Linked DNA regions of Homo sapiens: regions 2, 3, 4 and 5 are each linked to region 1. Evidence: promoter capture Hi-C in human tissues and cell types (Jung and others, 2019). All regions are on one chromosome and are shown on one strand. The core of a region is centred on a gene start or on the middle of the fragment in contact, and the rest is flanking DNA. Distances in the headings are between cores, read along the strand shown.

The links. Contacts are between HindIII fragments. The study calls those that stand out against the background at their distance.
Region 2: a fragment that was not itself captured here is called in contact with the fragment with the promoter of SST in region 1 in 1 of the 25 tissues and cell types used here (H1 embryonic stem cells).
Region 3: a contact is called between a fragment that was not itself captured here and the fragment with the promoter of SST in region 1, in 3 of the 25 tissues and cell types used here (heart left ventricle, lymphoblastoid cells and mesendoderm cells).
Region 4: a fragment that was not itself captured here is called in contact with the fragment with the promoter of SST in region 1 in 1 of the 25 tissues and cell types used here (neural progenitor cells).
Region 5: a contact is called between a fragment that was not itself captured here and the fragment with the promoter of SST in region 1, in 2 of the 25 tissues and cell types used here (aorta and mesendoderm cells).

The regions. Positions count from the first base shown.
Region 1 is chr3:187,668,899-187,672,591 of GRCh38, forward strand. It overlaps SST (somatostatin), which reads right to left and starts at 1,496. Exons shown (of 2, transcript NM_001048.4): 1 at 1,256-1,496; 2 at 14-379. The coding sequence starts at 1,393. The coding sequence ends at 167. The HindIII fragment of the contact is 6,645 bases long and covers 1-3,693 here.
Region 2 is chr3:187,419,308-187,423,016 of GRCh38, forward strand. No RefSeq gene overlaps it. Among named protein-coding and RNA genes, the nearest start is that of LINC02041, 26 kb to the right of the region's middle. The HindIII fragment of the contact is 5,501 bases long and covers 1-3,709 here.
Region 3 is chr3:187,491,959-187,496,093 of GRCh38, forward strand. The region is part of intron 1 of LOC124909471 (a long non-coding RNA gene); the gene reads right to left. Among named protein-coding and RNA genes, the nearest start is that of LINC02041, 47 kb to the left of the region's middle. The HindIII fragment of the contact is 7,793 bases long and covers 1-4,135 here.
Region 4 is chr3:187,458,266-187,462,289 of GRCh38, forward strand. No RefSeq gene overlaps it. Among named protein-coding and RNA genes, the nearest start is that of LINC02041, 13 kb to the left of the region's middle. The HindIII fragment of the contact is 4,075 bases long and covers 210-4,024 here.
Region 5 is chr3:187,509,998-187,514,079 of GRCh38, forward strand. No RefSeq gene overlaps it. Among named protein-coding and RNA genes, the nearest start is that of LINC02041, 65 kb to the left of the region's middle. The HindIII fragment of the contact is 3,081 bases long and covers 260-3,340 here.

The DNA of each region.
Region 1 (3,693 bases), core at 246-2,745:
AACCAAATTCACATTTTTCATAATTTCACCATAATTTTATTTTGTATTTACAGTTTTCAGTTTCTAATGCAAGGGTCTCGCTGAAGACTTGGAGGATTAGGGAAGAGAGATGGGGTGTGGGGGCGAGGGATCAGAGGTCTGATATGGACAATACTAGTTAAGAAAGCTAACAGGATGTGAAAGTCTTCCAGAAGAAATTCTTGCAGCCAGCTTTGCGTTCTCGGGGTGCCATAGCCGGGTTTGAGTTAGCAGATCTCTGCAGCTCAAGCCTCATTTCATCCTGCTCAGCAGCCTGGGACAGATCTTCAGGTTCCAGGGCATCATTCTCCGTCTGGTTGGGTTCAGACAGCAGCTCTGCCAAGAAGTACTTGGCCAGTTCCTGTATAGGGCAGAAGGGATAGAAAAAGAGAGAAAGAGAAGTGGGGAGGACAATGGAAAAAATTTGAAAAGCCTAAATTAAAGAACAGATTTGGTCACACACAAAATCCAGTTTTTACAGCTGCGCATTTTTTGTCACATTTAAAATCAATCAAGGATATAAAAATAAGGATAGTTGCTATAATTACCAAGTTACACAAAAAGGCTTTAAGAGCTCAAATGTTTCTGCAACCTTTCTGTCCCTGTAGACTTAACACACACACACACACACACACACGCACAAACACACACACACACACACACACACACATAAAGACCGTTCTGGTAAGATAAAGTGTGTGCCAACAGTTTAATTCAATTTTCACATCACGAGCTACAAAGTAGAATTGTTTTACCATTTTTACCAAGTAAACTGTAGGGGAACGAGACTTCTCACAATCTCAAACATACGGCGTTCGGTCTTTAGATTGCCCCTTTGCCCTAGTCCCGACGTTTGGAAGTGAGGTACGCTAAGAGGTAGCAGCTTCAGAGGTCTGCGTTTCAGCACCTGGGTCAGCGCTTCCCAGGGTCAGCACCAGGGATAGACGCCATTGTCGCTTCGTGCCCAGACAACTACCCAGATTTTGTAATTTTCTTGAATGCCAAGTAAGAACTCACCTGAACTGTGACCGACTGCGCTTATCATGGGGGAAAAAAAGAGTTAGAAGGGGATTCTAGCCTTTGATAGTTTTCTCAAGAGCTTCGGGAGCTGAGGGACCCAGAAAAGCACCAAAACTCTTTAGAAGGACTGAGCATCCCTTACGTCCAAACCAATGGGGCAGGAGCAAGGCTTAGGGAGGGCTGGAGAATCCGGGAGACGTCGAGGGAGTCTCCTTACCTGCTTCCCCGCGGCAGCAGCCAGGGACTTCTGCAGAAACTGACGGAGTCTGGGGTCCGAGGGAGCGCCGGTGACACAGCCCAGGGCCAGGACGATGGACAGCGCAGCCAGCGCGCACTGGAGGCGGCAGGACAGCATCTCGGCGCCGCGAAAGCCGAGCTGGAGAGTGGCTGGTCAAACTCTAGGCGCGGATCAGCAGGCAGCAGCGATGGCTCCGAACCTCGCTCCTAAAGCGGCTTGTGTGCTCTCAACCGTCTCCCTCTGTTTTAAACTCTCTCTCTGACGTCAGGCTAGGAGGCGCCCCCAGATCTCACCAGCCCTTTTACGCACCATTAGCCTCGCAAAATCAATCACAGAAGACAGGGGAGGTGACAAGATCTAAAGTGGCTTACTTAAAAAAAAAAAAATACTGCACACGCACAGGCACACACAATTCCACATGCCCCACGATTTATACAATCTTTTATTTTCACTCAGTGCTATGAGCATACACATTCCACAATTTCACTCCCACACATGCACACTCAATTACACACAAACAGAGGCTCAAACACTCAGCTCTTAAAGAGCAAATACACTATCACCCTTAAATGCACACAAATGTACCCAGACAACTCCATCTGTCATCATACTCTAACATTTTAGGAAGGCCCAACAAGCAACAGGGCATGTGTATGGTAGGTGGAGATCAGAATCATTCCTCTAATAACAGATTTGAGAATGAAATATGGACAGTAGAAGGACTGAGCCCTCTTTATTTCCTCCATTATCTCATAAAAAGCCTTGAAGATGTAACGGGGCTCTAAAAGAACTTCACTTTTCTCTACAATGGGGGAGAAGGTACCTCTGGCTCACCCTCCCTCCCTCTTTCTCAGCAACTGAGACTTCTGATCTACCTGCCTTTCTATTGTGACCATATATATGTATGAGTGTGTGTATATGTACGGGAGGGAAAGAGAGAGAGAGAGATTGAAATGGACTTCATTTTGGTGCTGAGAAATTTAGAGCTGGAAGGCAATCTAAGAAATTATTCAATAAACCTCAGAATTTGAATCAGTAAGGCAGAGTAATGGTCAGTAAATTGTTCTCCTTCACATACTGCACACTTTGAGCAAAACCAGACCTCCACATTCCAAAGCCAGTGTTCCTTCTACTGAGCTCTGAGTTTTCTAACAGATTCCTGGCCGGTAAGCATAGTTTTATGTCAGGAAGCCCCAGTTTAGACATATAAGGTCTAGGAACTCCCAGAACATATGTGACCACTATTGTATATCTATATGTGGAAAGGATCAAAAGATTCTTGGTTAAATTCAGCTCTGCCTGATCTCCTAGAAACAAAGAAAGTTTAAGAAAACCTGTCCTTGAATTCTGATTGAACTCTGGTTAAATGTTTACTGTTCAGGCCAGAGTTCTGACTGCTTTTATCTAAATAGTTCCTTACTGAGGAAGGACCAGCTAATTTCCTAGCATGGACGAGATGATCCCTACAGGATCTTTAAGAGCTGTTATCTTATGAGCTTCAAAAAAGCCAATATTAGCTAAAAAGATATGCTGCATCTCTGGAAACCATGCGAAGCTCATATTAGGTATTAAAATATTCTCAGTACTTAGACCCGAACCACAGTGTTGAGAGGCAGAAGGGTTTGGGAAGTATCCTGAATGGCTTGAATAATTGTCACTATTTCTTTTTGTGCTTGTAATCCAAGGCAAAGCGGAAATGCACAGCAAGAAGTGTTAAAGTTTCCAGGTCTTGACAAGGCCAGCCAAGACTAAGCACAAAGTGGGGCATTAAAAAGTCATTCACATGTGTTGGAGTAGTCTAAGAGATCAATGAATCTGGAGCTGTGGAACCCAGTCCTAGGAAATACATGTTATATTCTCTAAATCTTGCAACTCTCTCTGGCCTCTAAGGACTCAGAGTTTAGTTCTATCACTGTGACTGTCTCTAGGTACCTCCAAATGATCTCATATCTCCTGTACCCAGGATGTGGTCTTTGGCATACCCACTGAGTAGGAAACGAGGATTTTTCCAAAGCAGGAGCCAGCCGAAGAACAAATAGCAGCTCCCCATCTTCCCCTGTGCTCTAGGATCTCTTCTGTCTCCTTCCCCAGACGCTTGCTCCCCTCCTTCCACATCCTTGTGCTCTCCCTCTACACTTTCTCCTCCTTCTTATTCCTCCTTTTCCTTAACCTTTCTGCAAATTTATGTTTCAGAATTTTCCTCACTCAATCCTTCTTTTGTCTCCTCTCTTGACTCTGTATCCTCATTCCTTTGTTTTTCTTGCTCTTCTCAATCATTTTCTGACTTTGGTTTGGGTCAGCCCGGCTCTTTCCCTGCCTTCTCACCCTGCTTAGCCAGTGCCTATCCCAGTCTCTGCCTCAAGACATCTCTCCCTCTCTTTTCTCTCCTCTTTTCTTTCTTCTTCCCTCCTCAACTG
Region 2 (3,709 bases), core at 1,065-3,564, 250 kb before region 1:
GTTCTGCACATGTATCCCGGAACATTTAAAAAAAAAAAAAAAGGATACTAGACCTACCAAAAAAAAAGATACACAGCTATACAATAATAGTAGGGGATTTCAGCACTCCACTAACAGCACTAGACAGATCATCAAAGCAGAAAATTAACAAAGAAACCCTGGACTTTAATCAGACTCTTGATCAAATAGACCTAATAAACATACACAGAATATTTCACCTAACAACCACAGAATATGCATTTTTCTCATCTGCATATGGAACAGTTTCTGAAATTGACCACATTCTTGGTCATAAGGCAAGTCTCAATAAATTCAAACATATGAAAATCATATCAAGCATTTTCTTGGACCATAGTGAAATAAAATTAGAAATCAGTGCCAATAGAAACTCTCAAAATGACACAAGTACATGGAAACTAAACAACTTGCTCCTGAATGACTTTTGAATAAACAATGAAATTAAGGCAGAAATTTAAAAAATTGAAACAAACAAGAAGACAGGCACAACATACCAAAACCTCTGGGATACAGCAAAAGCAGTGTAAGAGGAAAGTTTATAACACTAAATTCCTACATTAAAAAGATAGAATAATCCCAAATTAACAACCTAATGTTGCACCTAAAGGAAATAGAAAAGCAAGAATAAACCTAATTCAAAGCTAGCAGAAGAAAAGACACAAGAAAGATTAGAGCCGAACTAAATGAATTTGAGACCAAAAACAAAAAAAAAAACATACAAATTATCAATGAAAAAACCATACAAATGATCAAAGAACCTTTCAAAATTGGTTCTTTGAAAGGATAAACAAAATTAGTAGACTTCCAGCTAGATTAACTAAGAAGGAAAAAGAGAAGATTCAAATAAGCACAATCAGAAATGACAAAGGTGACATTACAACTGATAACACAGAAATACAAAAACCCTCAAAGACTACTATCAACATGTCTATGCACATAAAATAGAAAACCTAGAGGAAATAGAAATAAATTCCCGAAGACACAACCTCCCAAGATTGAACCACCAATAAATTGAAATCCTGAACAGACCAATATCAAGTTATGAAAGTAAATCAGCAATAAAAAGTCTACCATCAAAAAAAAACCCTGGACCAAATAGATACACCACCAAATTCTACCAGACATTCAAAGAACAGCTGGTACCAATCTTATTGAAACTACTCCAAAAAATTGAAGGGGAGGGATTCTTCCCTAACTCATTTTATTAAACCAATATTATCCTGATATCAAAATCTGGCAAAGACACAACCAAAAAAGAAAACTACAGGCCCATATCCCTGATGAACATAGGCATACAAATGCTCAAAACAATACTAGCAAACTGAATCCAATAGCACATCAAAAAGATAAATTATCACACTCAAGTGTTTTTTATTCATGGGACTCAAGAATGGTTCAACATATGCAAATCAATAAATGTGACTCACCACATAAACAGAATTAAAATAAAAAACTATATGATCTCAACGGGCCCAGAAAAAAGAAAAGCATCCAATAAAATCCAACATCCCTTCATGATAAAAATCCTCAGCAAACTAGGCATTGAAGGAACATAACTCAAAATAATAAGAGCCATATATGACAGACCCACAGCCAACATCATACTGAACAGGTGAAAGTTAAAAGCATTCCCCCTAAGAATTACAACAAGATAAGGTTACCTACTCTCACAACTCGTATTCAACATAGTACTAGAAGTCCTAGCCAGACCAATTAGACAAAAGAAAAAAATAAAAGGCAACAAAATATGAAAAGAGGAAGACAAATCTTCTCTGTTTGCTGATGACAAGATCCTATACCTAGAAAGCCCTAATTTTCTCCAAAAGAATCCTAGACCTGATAAATGAATTCAGTGGTTTTAAGATACAAAATCAACCTACAAAACAAGTAGCATTTCTATACACCAATAGCATTTAAACTAAGAAACAAATTAAGATATCAATCCCATTTACAATAGATACACACACACACACACACACACACACACGCACACACACAAAATACCTAGGAATACATTTAACCAAGGAGGTAAAAGATCTCTACAAGGAGAACTACAAAACACTGCTGAAAGAAATCAGAAACAACATAAACAAATGGAAAAACATTCCATGCTTATGGAGTGGAAGAATCAATGTCATTAAAATGCCATACTTGCCAAAGTAAATTACAGATTTAAAGCAATTTCTATCAAATTGCCAATGTTGTTTTTCACAGAACTAGAAAAAAACTGGTCTAAAATTTGTATGGAACCAAAAAGAACCCAAATAGCCAAAGCAATCCTAAGCAAAAAGAATAAAGCCAGAAGCATAACATTACCAGACTTCAAACTATATTAGAAGGCTAGAGTAATCCAAACAGCATGGTACTGGTACAAAAATAGACACATAGACCAATAGAACAGAATAGATAACTCAGAAATAAAGCCATACACCTACAATCAACTGATCTGCAATAAAGTTGGCAAAAATAAACAATGGAGAAAGAACATCTGTCTTAGGCTGTTCTTGCATTGTCATAAACAAATACCTGAGTCAGGGTAATTTATAAGGAAACAAGGTTTAATTGGCTCATAGCTCTGCAAGCTGTACAGGAAGCATGGTGTCAGCATCTGCTCAGCTTCTGCAGTGGCCTCAGGAAGCTTACAATCATGGTGGAAGGTGAAGGGGGAGCAGGCATCTCATATGGTAGGAGTAGGAGCAAGAGAGAAGGGAAGAGGTACCACACACTTTAAACAACCAGATCATTTGAGAACTCACTATAGTAAGGACAGCAGCAAGCCATGAGGGATCCGCCCCCATGACCCAAACACCTCTCACCAGGCCCCAATTCCAATCCTGGGGATTATGTTTCTTTCTTTTGTTTGTTTTGAGATGGAGCCTCGCTCTTTCGCCCATGCTGGAGTGCAATGGCAGGATCTTGACTCACTGCAACCCCTGCCTCCCAGGTTCAAGCAATTCTCCTGCCTCAGCCTCCTGAGTAGCTGGGACTACAGGCACACACCACTCCACCTGGATAATTTTTTTTGTATTTTTAGTAGAGGCAGAGTTTCAATATGTTTGCCAAGCCTAGAACTCCTGACCTCAGATGATCCACCTGCCTTGGCCTCCCAAAGTGCTGAGATTACAGGCATGAGCCACCATGCCTGGCTAGGATTACATTTCAACATGATATTTTGGCAAAGACAAATATCAAGCTATATCAACACCCTATTCAGTAAATGGTTCTTGGAAAATTGCCTAGCCATATTTAGAAGAATAAAACTGTACCCCTACTTCTCACCATATGCAAAAATTAACTCAAGATGGATTAAAGACTTAAATGTAAGACCTCAACCTATAAAAATGCTAGAATAAAATCTAGGAAATACTCTTCTGGACATTGGCCTAGCCAAAGAATTTATGGCTAAGACATTAAAAGCAAATGCAACAAAAACAAAAATAGACAAATGGGATTTAATTAAACTAAAGAGCTTCTGCCCAGCAAAAGAAACAACCAACAGAGTAAACAGGCAACCTACAACATGGGAGAAAATATTTGCAAACTATGCATCCAAAGAAGGTCTAATATCCACAATCTATAAGAAATTTTAGTAAGTCAGCAAGAAATAAACATTAAAATTGGGCAAAGGACATGAACAGACACTTCTTAAAAAAACATACAAGCAGCCAACAAATATATGGAAAAAATGTTA
Region 3 (4,135 bases), core at 1,252-3,751, 180 kb before region 1:
CTCTAGAGGAAGGGGGAGAGCACCACATCAAGGGATCACCCCATGGGACAAAAGAATCTGAACAGCAGGCCTTGAATTCCACATCCTTCCACTGGTGGGTAGTTTCTCACAGAAGAGATACAATTGCAGTGCTGGGCACAGTAGGGAAAGTCTGCACCTCTACACCAACAGGCAGGCTGCCTCTGTGATTGTGAAGGGCCTTGGAGAAGGGGTCCTTCTTCCCTACTGCCACTCCACCACAAATGCAGCTGGGGCTTCCCCCACAAGAATGCAGTGTGGAGGCACCTGTAGGCAGCATTTCTGGAACAATCCAGGCTGAGTGGAGCCCCACAGGAGGAGCACCCCCCCAGATTCAGGCCTATACAAGCGGCAGTGTCACAATTCCTTCCTACTTGGAACTCAACATTCCTATAGATTAAAAGAGGTGCCTGTCTCATCTGAAGAGCTGCAACACTAGGACAGGAGTGAGGCTTTGAGGTGAAGAGCTTTCCTGCTGACCTGGCAAGAGAGCTGAGGTAGCTCCCACTCTTCACCAAGGTAAAACCTCAGCTCGTCTAATTGAGAGTGCCCCCAGTTACTCATCAAGGCTTGGACCTTGGCCCACCACTGGGTATTATATCTTCCCACCTGCCTTAGCCACACCTGGAGCCTAACCAGGCTTACCTCTCCTATTGACCTGAAGCCTGAATCATCAAATCAGTAAATAAAACACTGGGAAAAAATAAATAAACAAATAAATTGTACACCACTAGGGAACGAGATAAGTTTCAAGAGATCCCTGCCATTTCAACTTGAGAGGAGACGTCGAACTCACCCACACACCAAGAATATAACTACTACAACCAACATTGGGGAAAACCAGCACACAAAGACTCTCTATAACTAAGGAACTCATACAGAGTCTTTACCCCTACAAGCACCAAGAATCAAATTAGACTATAATAAACATTGAAGTCTGATTCTTAAGAGGAAAACACAAAAAAGAAAAGAAAATTAAATCTACAAAACACAGTCCAATCAAAAAAGAATTCAAGAACAATTTGAAGAAATTGTCTACACAAATGAGAAGGAACCAGAAAAGTAGTTCTGGTAACATGAAAAACATAGTTCTATAACACCCCCAAAAGATCACACTAGCTCTCTAGCAATGGATTTAAACCAGGAAGAAACCTCTGAATTGCCATATAAAGAATTCAGAAGGTTAAATATTAAGCTACTCAACGAGATATCAGAGAAAGGTGAAAACCAACTTAAAGAAATTAAAAAAAATACAGGATACGGATGCATAATATTGAAGAAAAATAGATATCATTAGAAAAACAATCACAACTTCTGGAAATGAAAGAAACATTTAGGGAAATACAAAATGCAATGGAAAATTTCAACAATAGGCTAGAACAAGTCGAAGAAAGAGCTTCAGAGCTCAGAGACAAGCCTTTCAAATTAACCCAATTAGACAGAGACAAACAAAAAAGAATAATAAAAAAGTAAACAAAGCTCTCAAGAAAGCTGGGATTATGTTAAATGACCAAACGTAAGAATAATTGGTGTTCCTGAGGAAGAAGAGACATCTAAAACTTTAGAAAACTTATTTGAGGGAATAATTGAGGACGACTTCCCTGGCCTTTGTCTTTTTCAGGCAAACAAATGCTGAGAGAATTCTCCACTACCAAGTTTTTCAGACAAATGATGCTGAGATAATAGTGGGGGACTTCAATACACCACTGACAGCACTAGTCAGGTCATCAAGACAGAAAGTCAACAAAACTACTATTAACACTTTTATGCACACAAACTAAAAAAATGGAGAGATGGATAAATTCTTGGAAACATACAACCCTCCTATATTAAATCAGGAAGAAATAGAAACTCTGAACAGACCAATAACAATTAGCAAGATTGAGACAGTAATAAAAAAAATCGCCAACAACAAAAAAAATCCAGGACCAGATGGATTCACAGCTGCATTCTAGTAGATATTCAAAGAATTGGTACCAATCCTACTGAAACAATTCCAAAAGATAGAGAAAGACAGAATCCTTCGAAATCATTCTGTGAAGCCAGTATCACATTAATACCAAAATCAGAAAAGGATATAACAAAAAGAGAAAACTATAGACCAACATCCCTGATGAACATAGATGCAAAAATCAAATAAATACTAGCTAACCAAATCCAACAGCATATCAAAAAGATAATCCACCATGAACAAATGGCTTTCATACAAAGGATGCACGGATGGTTTAACATACGCAAGTTGATGCATGTGATACACCACATAAGCAGAATTAAAAACAAAAACCACGTGATCATCTCAACAGACACAGAAAAAGCATTTGACAAAATCCAGCATCCCTATATGATTAAAACCCTCAGCAAAATTGGCATAGAAGGGACATAGCTTAAGGTAATAAAAGACATATATTACAAGCCCACAGCCAACATTATACTGAATGGGAAAAAGTTGAAAGCATTCCACCTGAGAAGTAGAACAAGACAAGGATGCCCACTTTCATTACTTCTATTCAACGTAGTCCTGGAAATTCTAGCCAGAGCAATCAGGCAGAAGAAAGAAATGAAGGGCATCCAAGTCGATAAAGAGGAAGTCAAACTGTCGCTGTTCATTGATGATATGATTGTATACCTAGAAAACCCTAAAGACTCATCTGAAAAGCTTCTAGATCTGATAAATGAATTCAATAATGTTTCAGAACACAAAGTCAATGTACAAAAATCAGTAGCACTGCTACATACCAACAATGACCAGGCTGAGAATCAAATCAAGAACTTAACCCCCTTTACAATTGCTGCAAAAAACAAAACAAACAAACAAACAAAAACTTAGGAATATACCTAACCAAGGAGATAAAAGACATCTACAAGGAAAACTACAAAAAGCTGCTGAAAGCAATCATAGATGACGTGAACAAATGGAAACACATCCCATGCTCATGGATTGATAGAATCAATATTGTGAAAATGACCATACTGCCAAAATAAATCTACAAATTCAATGCAATTCCCATCAAAATACTATCATCATTCTTTGCAGAACTAAAAAAAAAATTCTAAAATTTATATGGAACCCCCCCCACCAAAAAAAAGCCTGCATAGCCAAAGCAAGACTAAGCAAAAAGAGCAAATTGGGAGGCATCACATTACCTGACTTCAAACTATACTACGAGACTATCCTTACCTAAACAGCATGGTTCTGGTATAAAAATAAGCATGCAGACCAATGGAACAGAATAGAGAACCCAGAAATAAAGCCAAAGATTTATACCCAACTTGATCATTGACAAAGCATTCAAAAACATGAAGTAGGGAAAGAACACCTACTCATTATCAGGGAAATACAAATTAAAACCACAATTCAGTATACCACCTAACTCCTGCAAGAATGGCCATAATTTAAAAAATCAAAAAATAATAATTGTTGGCATCGATGTGGTGAAAAGAGAACACCTTTACACTGCTGGTGGGAATGTAAACTAGTACAACCACTGTAGAAAACAGTATGGAGATTCCTTAAAGGACTGAAAGTACTTCTACCATTCGACTCAGCAATCTCACTGCTGGTTATCTACCCAAAGGAAAAGAAGTCATTATATGAAAAAGACACTTGCACACACAAGTTTATAGCAGCACAATTCACAAGTGATAAAATATGGAACCAACCTAAATGCCCATCAACTAACAAGTGAATAAAGAAAATGTCGTATATGTACATCATGCAATACTATAAAAGGAACAAAATAATGGCTTTTGTAGCAACTTCGATGAAGTTAGAGACCACTTTCTAAGCTAAGTAACTCAGGAGTGGAAAACCAAATATCGTATGTTCCCACTTATAAGTGGGAGTTAAGCTATGAGGATGCAAAGGCATAAGAATGGTATAATGGACTTTGAGGACTCGAGGGGAAGGATGGGAGGGTAGAGATAAAATATTACACATTGGGTACAGTGTGTACTGCTCGGGTCATGGGTGCACCGAAAACTCAGAAATCACCAGTAAAGAACTTATTCATGTAACCAAAAACCACCTGTTTCCCCAAAACCTACTGAAATAAAAAAATAAAATAATATCTAAGTTGCAGATTTGGGAGAAAATATTTGCATAATATATATCTAACAA
Region 4 (4,024 bases), core at 997-3,496, 210 kb before region 1:
AATTTCATACCAAGAGGAGTAAAAAACAGTTCAGAAATGCATTTTCAAAGTCAAAGAGGGATTGCTAGTCATTCCAGAGAGAAGAAAGGAGGTCATCCACTCTGCAATATGACCTACACTATGATTTTCTCAAAATCCTGAGTGTATTCTATAAAATTATTACAAAATATTTTATAAGAGTAGATTTCTTAGGGCACTGCCAGTGTGTCTGTGTCCAGGGAATTGCAGGGAAAAACAGGTCACATGAGCACTGGCATAAAGACAAGAATAAGCAGAGGGCTCTCACAGAAACCTTAGAGAGGGCTTTAGACTATCACAGGTTGTGGAATGTGTGTTAAGGCCAGATTTGGCCACACCTATAATGAGCAGAGAGGCTGCATCCATTATCGGAATTCTTTTTAAGCAGTCTCTATGCCCACTGAACTGTGGGTTTTCCGATGGAAGGGCCTATCTCCATGCATCCCAGTTTTCTGGGCACAAGTCTTGGCACATGGGATGCTCTAAATAAATCTTTGGAGAATGAATAACATAAAAAGCATATAATATAGGCTTTTTTTCCTAAGGTTCAAGGAAGCATGAAGGAGTCCTTATTGTCTGTGGCTATTCTATGGCTCAGACTAAATTCTCCCTTATTCCCTACTTAGATGCTATTGAACTTGTTTCTCCAAACTCTGTTATTCAAAATTTGATTAATTTGAGCTCAAAATGACATTTCAAAATCCCCTATTCCCAAACACATAGCTCATCAAAAACACCTCCCACTATTTACAATTCCACTTCATTGAAATATGATGATGCCAGGCAGACAGCAGTGTGTATTCAGTGGAATTCAATTTTCCTGATCACTGGCTCCATCGATCAGTCTGTTTGCAAAGGGCTGATGCAAGCATTCATCCACTTCATACAGACGGTGGGTGAGCCACTCTCCTATTATTTCTGCAAGTGAAAAAGGTTGTTAAACTATAATGATGGTATTCTGAAGGATCACTTTACTATTGTTGTTTTAAGCTTTATTGAGATTCTATCAAGGGCCAGGAGTTTTTCCTATGTGTTCATATTTAATCTTTACAACTGACAATTTAGCGGGGAAGAATCTGAGACTTAGAGAACTTAGGTGAATTGTCCACAGTTACAGAGCTGGCAATGTGTGGAGCCGGAATTCAAACACAGTTCTTGTGATTTCAGAATTGAATATTATCCATTATACTTGGTTCTCCCCTTGGCAGTTGTCTTGGGGCTGAGGCAGGGAAGGTAGAAAGAAGTGACTGAGAAAGGAATCCCAAGACAATCTGATAGAGAAGAAAAATTACAGTGGCTTATTATTCAACATATTCACCACCTGTCACTCTCTCCTGGGATCCCCACTGTGGCTGAATAAGCACTTGTTACTGCAGCCAGAAGGCTACACTTGGCCACAGGCCTGTCTCTTCCCATGTATTGTGAGTTCCTTGAGACAGTGCACACCAAACACAAACACACACACTCAGGGCAGTGCCCAGGCCCAGAGGAGCTGGTAGCATGATGAGCAAATGTGGTGTCAGAGAAGAGGTGTCTTCAGGGAAGGAATCTCTGTGACTCTTGCAGGCAAGCAGCGTCTTCACCAGAGGTAATGGTCTGGGCATCTGCCTTAGACAGAAGACAGAAAGGCCTGGGAGAGACACATCCAGAATTCCAATCTACCTGGTAGTGTTGCCAACACAAATCTCCTTGAGGATAAAACCTTTTCTAACCCAGGCAGAGCCAGGAAAGTGCTCTGCAGGACCCATCTCAGCCGCATCACAGTTCAGGAAGCATGACTACTGTATCTTCAAAACTTCACTAAATGTTCCTTGTTGTTCATTGTTATGTCAATAGACACCTTCTACATTGTAGCTACCCCCAATGCATGAAATGCATGGAAAAAATCTAAAAGAGAATTATATTTTTGATCCATAGGTAAAATTGGAGAAAAATTGGGAGCATGCTTCTCTCTCTCTCTCTCTTTTTTTTTGTGATGGAGTCTCGCTCTGTCACCCAGTCTGGAGTGCAGCGGTGTGATCTTGGCTCACCACAACCTCCACCTCCCAGATTCAAGTGATTCTCCTGCCTCAGCTTCCCAAGTAGCTGGGACTACAGGTGTGTGCCACCACACCCAGCTAATTTTTTTTTTTTTTTTTTTGTAGTAGAGACGGGGTTTCGCCACATTGACCAGGCTGGTCTCAAACTCCTGACTTTAGACGATCCGCCCACCTTGGCCTCCCAAAGTGCTGGGATTACAGGCATGAACCACCATGCCCGGCACTTCTCTCTTTTTAGGCAATAATTCTAGCTGTTCTGAAGACCAAAACTGGTCAATACTTGTCCTCAGTTTCTCTGAAAACTGAATCATGCATCATGAGAATTCCCTTCTCTAGTAGGAGAGCTCTTCAAAGCAATCATTTTCTTTATTAGCAAGTGTGGGTGTCTTCATAAACTTCTGGATTTGTTTCCAGGGTCTGGTTAACAAAGGATAGGATCTCATATGGCACTCATAGCAAATCTGAAATAGGTGGGGCTGACACTATCTGTTGTTTCTATTTTGCAGATACTCATGAAACTGAGGCTCAGAGAGTGTGCATGACTTACGCAAGCTCACACAGCTAAGTAACAATTATACTTGGATGAGATCTGGGTGTTCTGTTGTCCAGTCCAATATCACGTTGTACATTAAGACTTGAGTCATGCCAGTATCCCTATGATCATAGTCACACTTTTATCATCTAACCTCGAATCCTTAAACCTTAATATTCATTTCTCTTAGAAAAATAAAACATGGTAGAACTCAACTTCTGTACTGAATACAATCTGACACCACTCTGAATAGAGAAGCTCCAGGAAGCCATTCTGGTGGGTGGCGAAAGGTCACAGGAGGTGCAGTGTTTGAAAAAGCAATACAGATTTCAACAATCAGGTTATTAAGCAAAAATTCTTAGATAAGCTTTCTAATCCTATCAAGGGCTTACTCCTATTCCCCACTCAGCTGGCAAAGTTCAATTACATTGTAGGTCAAAATTAACACTGCAGGGGAAAGATTTTATTGTTTTGCTCTCATTCAGGCTAAGTATTTGACTCCTTGTGGATAGTAAGCATCAGTGTTTCAAAAGTGTGTGTGTGTAAGAGAGAGAGAGATGGAGAGAGAGAGAATATCTGTACTGTTTTCAAGTCCTGGCTATTATATAGTAAATTTTAAATGTCTTAAACTTGGTTAATCACTCTGATTGATATTTTGTGTTCCAGTTGTCAAAAAGAAAGAAAGAAAAAACAAAAACAAAGAAAAGGGGAGCAAAAATGGAAATATTTGAAAAAAGAGGGGCATATGAACATAGATACATGTATTATCTTTACAATGTTTATAGTATAGTTAATAAAGGAATTTTACCCACCTACATTGCTAATTTATTCCTGAACACTACTCCATGTACAAAGTAGGCAGGGTAAGTACACATATCAGCATTTTTTTAAAGATAAACAGAAACGCAGAATCAGATCTAGAGTCCTGTTTGGGAGCCTCTAGTTCATGTCATTTTTGCATGAATATTAGCCTTCCCTTACATAGTGTTCGCCAGTATAAGACGCCATTAAAAATGCTTTATGTTGACTCACGTAATATATAGCTGTACCTACTCTGATTCAAAACACAACTGAACTTTATCAGTTTTATACAAACCATGTATTTAGTTTTATACAAACTGAAATAATCCATGGTAGGGAAGGAGTGTTAATTTAGGGGGAAAAAAGTGAACCATTGGCTATGGCTATATAAATAATACAATTTTCAATGGTTGTGCTGAATTTGCACAACACTGAACACTTTTAAAAAAACTTTCTCACATGCAGTACCTTTCATTCTCACTGGAGTCCCATGAGGTGTCACTTTCCCCATTAGACATGGGGTAGCAGGAGCTGAGGCTCTGTGTTCTGGAACTAAGTCAAATTAGTGACCCATGCCCAGTTCTGCAGGTGGGTGGCAGATCTTGTGGGTGGTAGATGTTGGGGAAAATGGGAA
Region 5 (4,082 bases), core at 550-3,049, 160 kb before region 1:
ACACTCTGCTTTATGTTTTATTTTCTTGAACCAAAATATTTGGTTGAAGCGTCAGTGTTTCATAAATTGATTCTCAAGTGCCATATAGCATGCGTATGTGCACACTCACTCTTTGGTTGTTTGATAGAATTCAATTTTAAAAAGAAGCTAAATTCAAAAAATCGGTTTTTAGTGTTAGCCTGGGCATAAAGGACTCTGTCAATAATTAAAATCCATTTTTAAAAAGCCTCAACCAAAAAAAAACTTTTATGTAATTATGTTTTAAGTATCAGTAGTGTATTGATTATGGTAATTTAAAAAACCTATGGTTATTAATCATTATGACAGAGTTATTTTGCTTTTTAAAAAAACTTTATTGACTTAACAGGAAGAGGCTGAGATACAAAATATAATTTAAAGAGTTTCACTTTGGGAGGCCGAGGAGGGCAGATCACAAGGTCAGGAGTTCAAAACCAGCCTGGCCAACATGGTGAAACCCCGGCTCTACTAAAAATACAAAACTTAGCTGGGCATGGTGGCACATGCCTGTAATTCCAGCTACTTAGGAGGCTGAGGCAGAAGAATTGCTTGAACGGACACCTGGGAGGTGAAGGTTACAGTGAACCAAGATCGCACCACTGCACTCCAGCTCCAGCCTGGGCTACAGAGTGAGACTCCATATCAAAAAAAAAAAAAAAAAAAAAAAAAGTTAAAGAGTGTACTTGAGCCAAAATAAGGACAGCTGCCCTGACGACTCAGATCTAAATAACCTTGGATGTGAAGAATGTTTTGCCTTTGTAACAAGTGGGTTTTAAAAGGGAAAAATGGAGTGGGTTGATACAAAGTTATTTGTCAGGAATTCTCATTGGTTTACAGAAATAACAATGATTAGTGATCGGCTATATACATTGTTAAGCTACAAGGTTATAGTGGATTAGTGTCTGTGTGGCATTATTAGGTTAATTTATATTCATGGCAATAGCAAGCAGTCAAGAGATGAATATGTAGCTCAAGTGGGAGGCAGGATGTGATTGTTTTAATGACTCTCTGGGCCTGATCATTTAAAAGCTTTGCATTCCTTGGATAAAATTTCTTTTCTTTTCTCAGTTTGGGCTTGGGATATCCCAAGATGGTTCAGATGATCTCAAAGGACATAAATGTAACTTAATTTTAAGTAATTTTCATAGAAATTATAATATATAGAATTAATTTAGAAAAGATAGGATTCATAAGTCTGGTTATAATAAAAATGTAATTATTAAAAACTCCATTAAGGCAGACACCAAGCCTTTTTTTTTTTTTTTTACCACTTTCATAGTAACCAGCACATAGTAGATATTCAACAATTTTTTTTTGAATGAAAATAAAGATAATGTGAATGCAGGTTGATAACTGAATGGTTAAAAAGCCAGAAATAAAAAGCCTGCATCTAATGTGAAGAAAAAGGCACTCATAGTCATCATTTTATTTCACTCCATCAACCTCTATTGAGTGCGTACTATGTGCCAAAAATTGTTCTAGATGTTGTGTGATATATTTGTGAATAACAGGCTTGATTCTTAGCAGCGTAGACCTTACTGTCTGTTTAGGGGGATACAACTTGGAAATAGAAGGTTGATCAGGAGTATCCAAGCTCCTAAACAGTGTGATAAGGAATGGGGAACTCAGCTCATCTTTTTCTGTAGACATTTTAAAATGGAGCTTTGATTTTACCAAAAATTTGACCACTTATGATCATTCTTTAATATTCACAGTTGACACAATATCCATCATCCTATTTGAAGCAGAAAGACCAAGTATTATCATTAATTTACAAACAAGAAAAATGAAGTCCACAGTGGGTAAATTATACAATTAGAACACAGGTTTCCTGAATCCAAGTTATTGGAGATAAAGGAGATTTAGCCTTCTTTTTATTGGGTTTTGGTGTTCATTTTTAGCAAATACTTGAATAAAAAGAATAATCACAATCTCCTTTTTGGTCATGTTCAAAATATCAAACTATGTGTTTTTAGCAAATACTAGTTCTGGGTGAACGTTCGAAATTTTCACTTTTTGTTTAAGCATTCGTTATTAGCTCTAGAGATACAATCAGAAGGTCCTCAGTTATAGGAGCAGGAGTCCTTGGAAACAACGCTGGTTGGACATTATATTAGTCGACTGCAAACATCGTGAAGCTAAACTTTTTATTATTTATCTCATGTTCCTAGTGTCCTGCACTTAGTCCTCACAGATGAAAACGGGGTCAGCAATAAGAGCTGTCAGTCCTCCATGCCTTTCTGACTGCCACTCCCTTAGCCCAAGCCCTTGTGACCTTGCAGCTTAAATTATTTTCCAAAAGCAATTCTGTCATTCTTTGGCTCAGAAACTTAGTTCAGACTGCTATAGCAAAACCACCATAGACTGGGTGACTTGAACAGCAAACATTTATTTCTCAGGTTTGAAGCCTGGGAAGTCCAATATCAAGGTGCTGGCAGATCTGGTGTCTGGTGAGGGCACTCTTCCTAGTTTGTAGATAGCCATCTCTCATTGTATCCTCAGGTGGCAGAGGGCAGAGAGGGAAAGAGGAGGCACTCATGTGTCTTCTTATGAGGGCACTAATCCAATTCAAGAGGGCCCCACACTCATTATCTAATTTCTTCCCAAAGGCCCCACCTCTTAATATCACAACACTAGAGGTTAGGATTTCAACATGTGAATTTTGAAGGGACATGTATTAGGGTTCTCTAGAGGAACAGAACTAATGGGGGAGGTTCCAAGATGGCCGAATAGGAACAGCTCCAGTCTACAGCTCCCAGGGTGAGCAATGCAGAAGACAGGTGATTTCTGTATTTCCAACTGAGGTACCAGATTCATCTCACTGGGGCTTGTTGGACAGTGGATGCAGCACACTGAGCAGGGCTGGGCGTCACCTCACCTGGGAAGTGCAAGGGGTTGGGGGAATTCCCTTTCCTAGCCAAGGGAAACCATGACAGATTGTACCTGGAAAATAGGGACACTCCCACCCTAATACTGTGCTTTTCCAATGGGCTTAGCAAATGGCACACCAGGAGATTATATCCTGCGCCTGGCTCAGAGGGTCCCACACCCACAGATCCTCACTCACTGCTAGCACAGCAGTCTGAGATCGAACTGCAAGGCAGCAGCGAGGCTGGGGGAGGGGCGTCCGCCATTGCTGAGGCTTGAGTAGGTAAACAAAGTGGCTGGGAAGCTTGAACTGGGTGGAGCCCACTGCAGCTCAAGGAGGCCTGACTGCCTGCCTCTGTAGACTCCCCCTCTGGGGGCAGGGCATAGCCAAACAAAAGGCAGCAGAAACTCCTGCAGACTTAAATGTCCCTGTCTGACAGCTTTGAAAAGAGTAGTGGTTCTCCCAGCATGGAGTTTGAGAGCTGAGAACGGACAGACTGCCTCCTCAAGTGGGTCCGTGACCCCTGAGTAGCCTAACTGGGAGACACCTCCCAGTAGGGGCCGACTGACACCTCATACAGCCGGGTGCCCCTCTGAGAGGAAGCTTCCAAAGGAAGGATCAGGCAGCAACATCTGCCATTCTGCAATATTTCCTGTTCTGCAGCCTCCGCTGGTGATACCCAGGCAAACAGGGTCTGGAGTGGACCTCTAGCAAACTCCAACAGACCTGCAGCTGAGGGTCCTGACTGTTAGAAGGAAAACTAACAAACCGAAAGGACATCCACACCAAAACCCCATCTGTATGTCACCATCATCAAAAACCAAAGGTAGATAAAAACACAAAGATGGGGAGAAACCAGAGCAGAAAAGTTGAAAATTCTAAAAATCAGAGCACCTCTTCTCCTCCAAAGGAACACAGCTCCTTGCCAGCAATGGAACAAAGCTGGATGGAGAATGACTTTGATGAGTTGAGAGAAGAAGGCTTCAGATGATCAGTAATAACAAACTTCTCCGAGCTCAAGGAGGATGTTCGAACCCATCGCAAAGAAGCTAAAAACCTAGAAAAAAGATTAGACGAATGGCTAACTAGAATAAGCAGTGTAGGGAAGTCCTTAAATGACCTGACGGAGCTGAAAACCATGGCACGAGAACTACGTGACACATGCACAAGCTGCAGTAGCTGATTTGATCAAGTG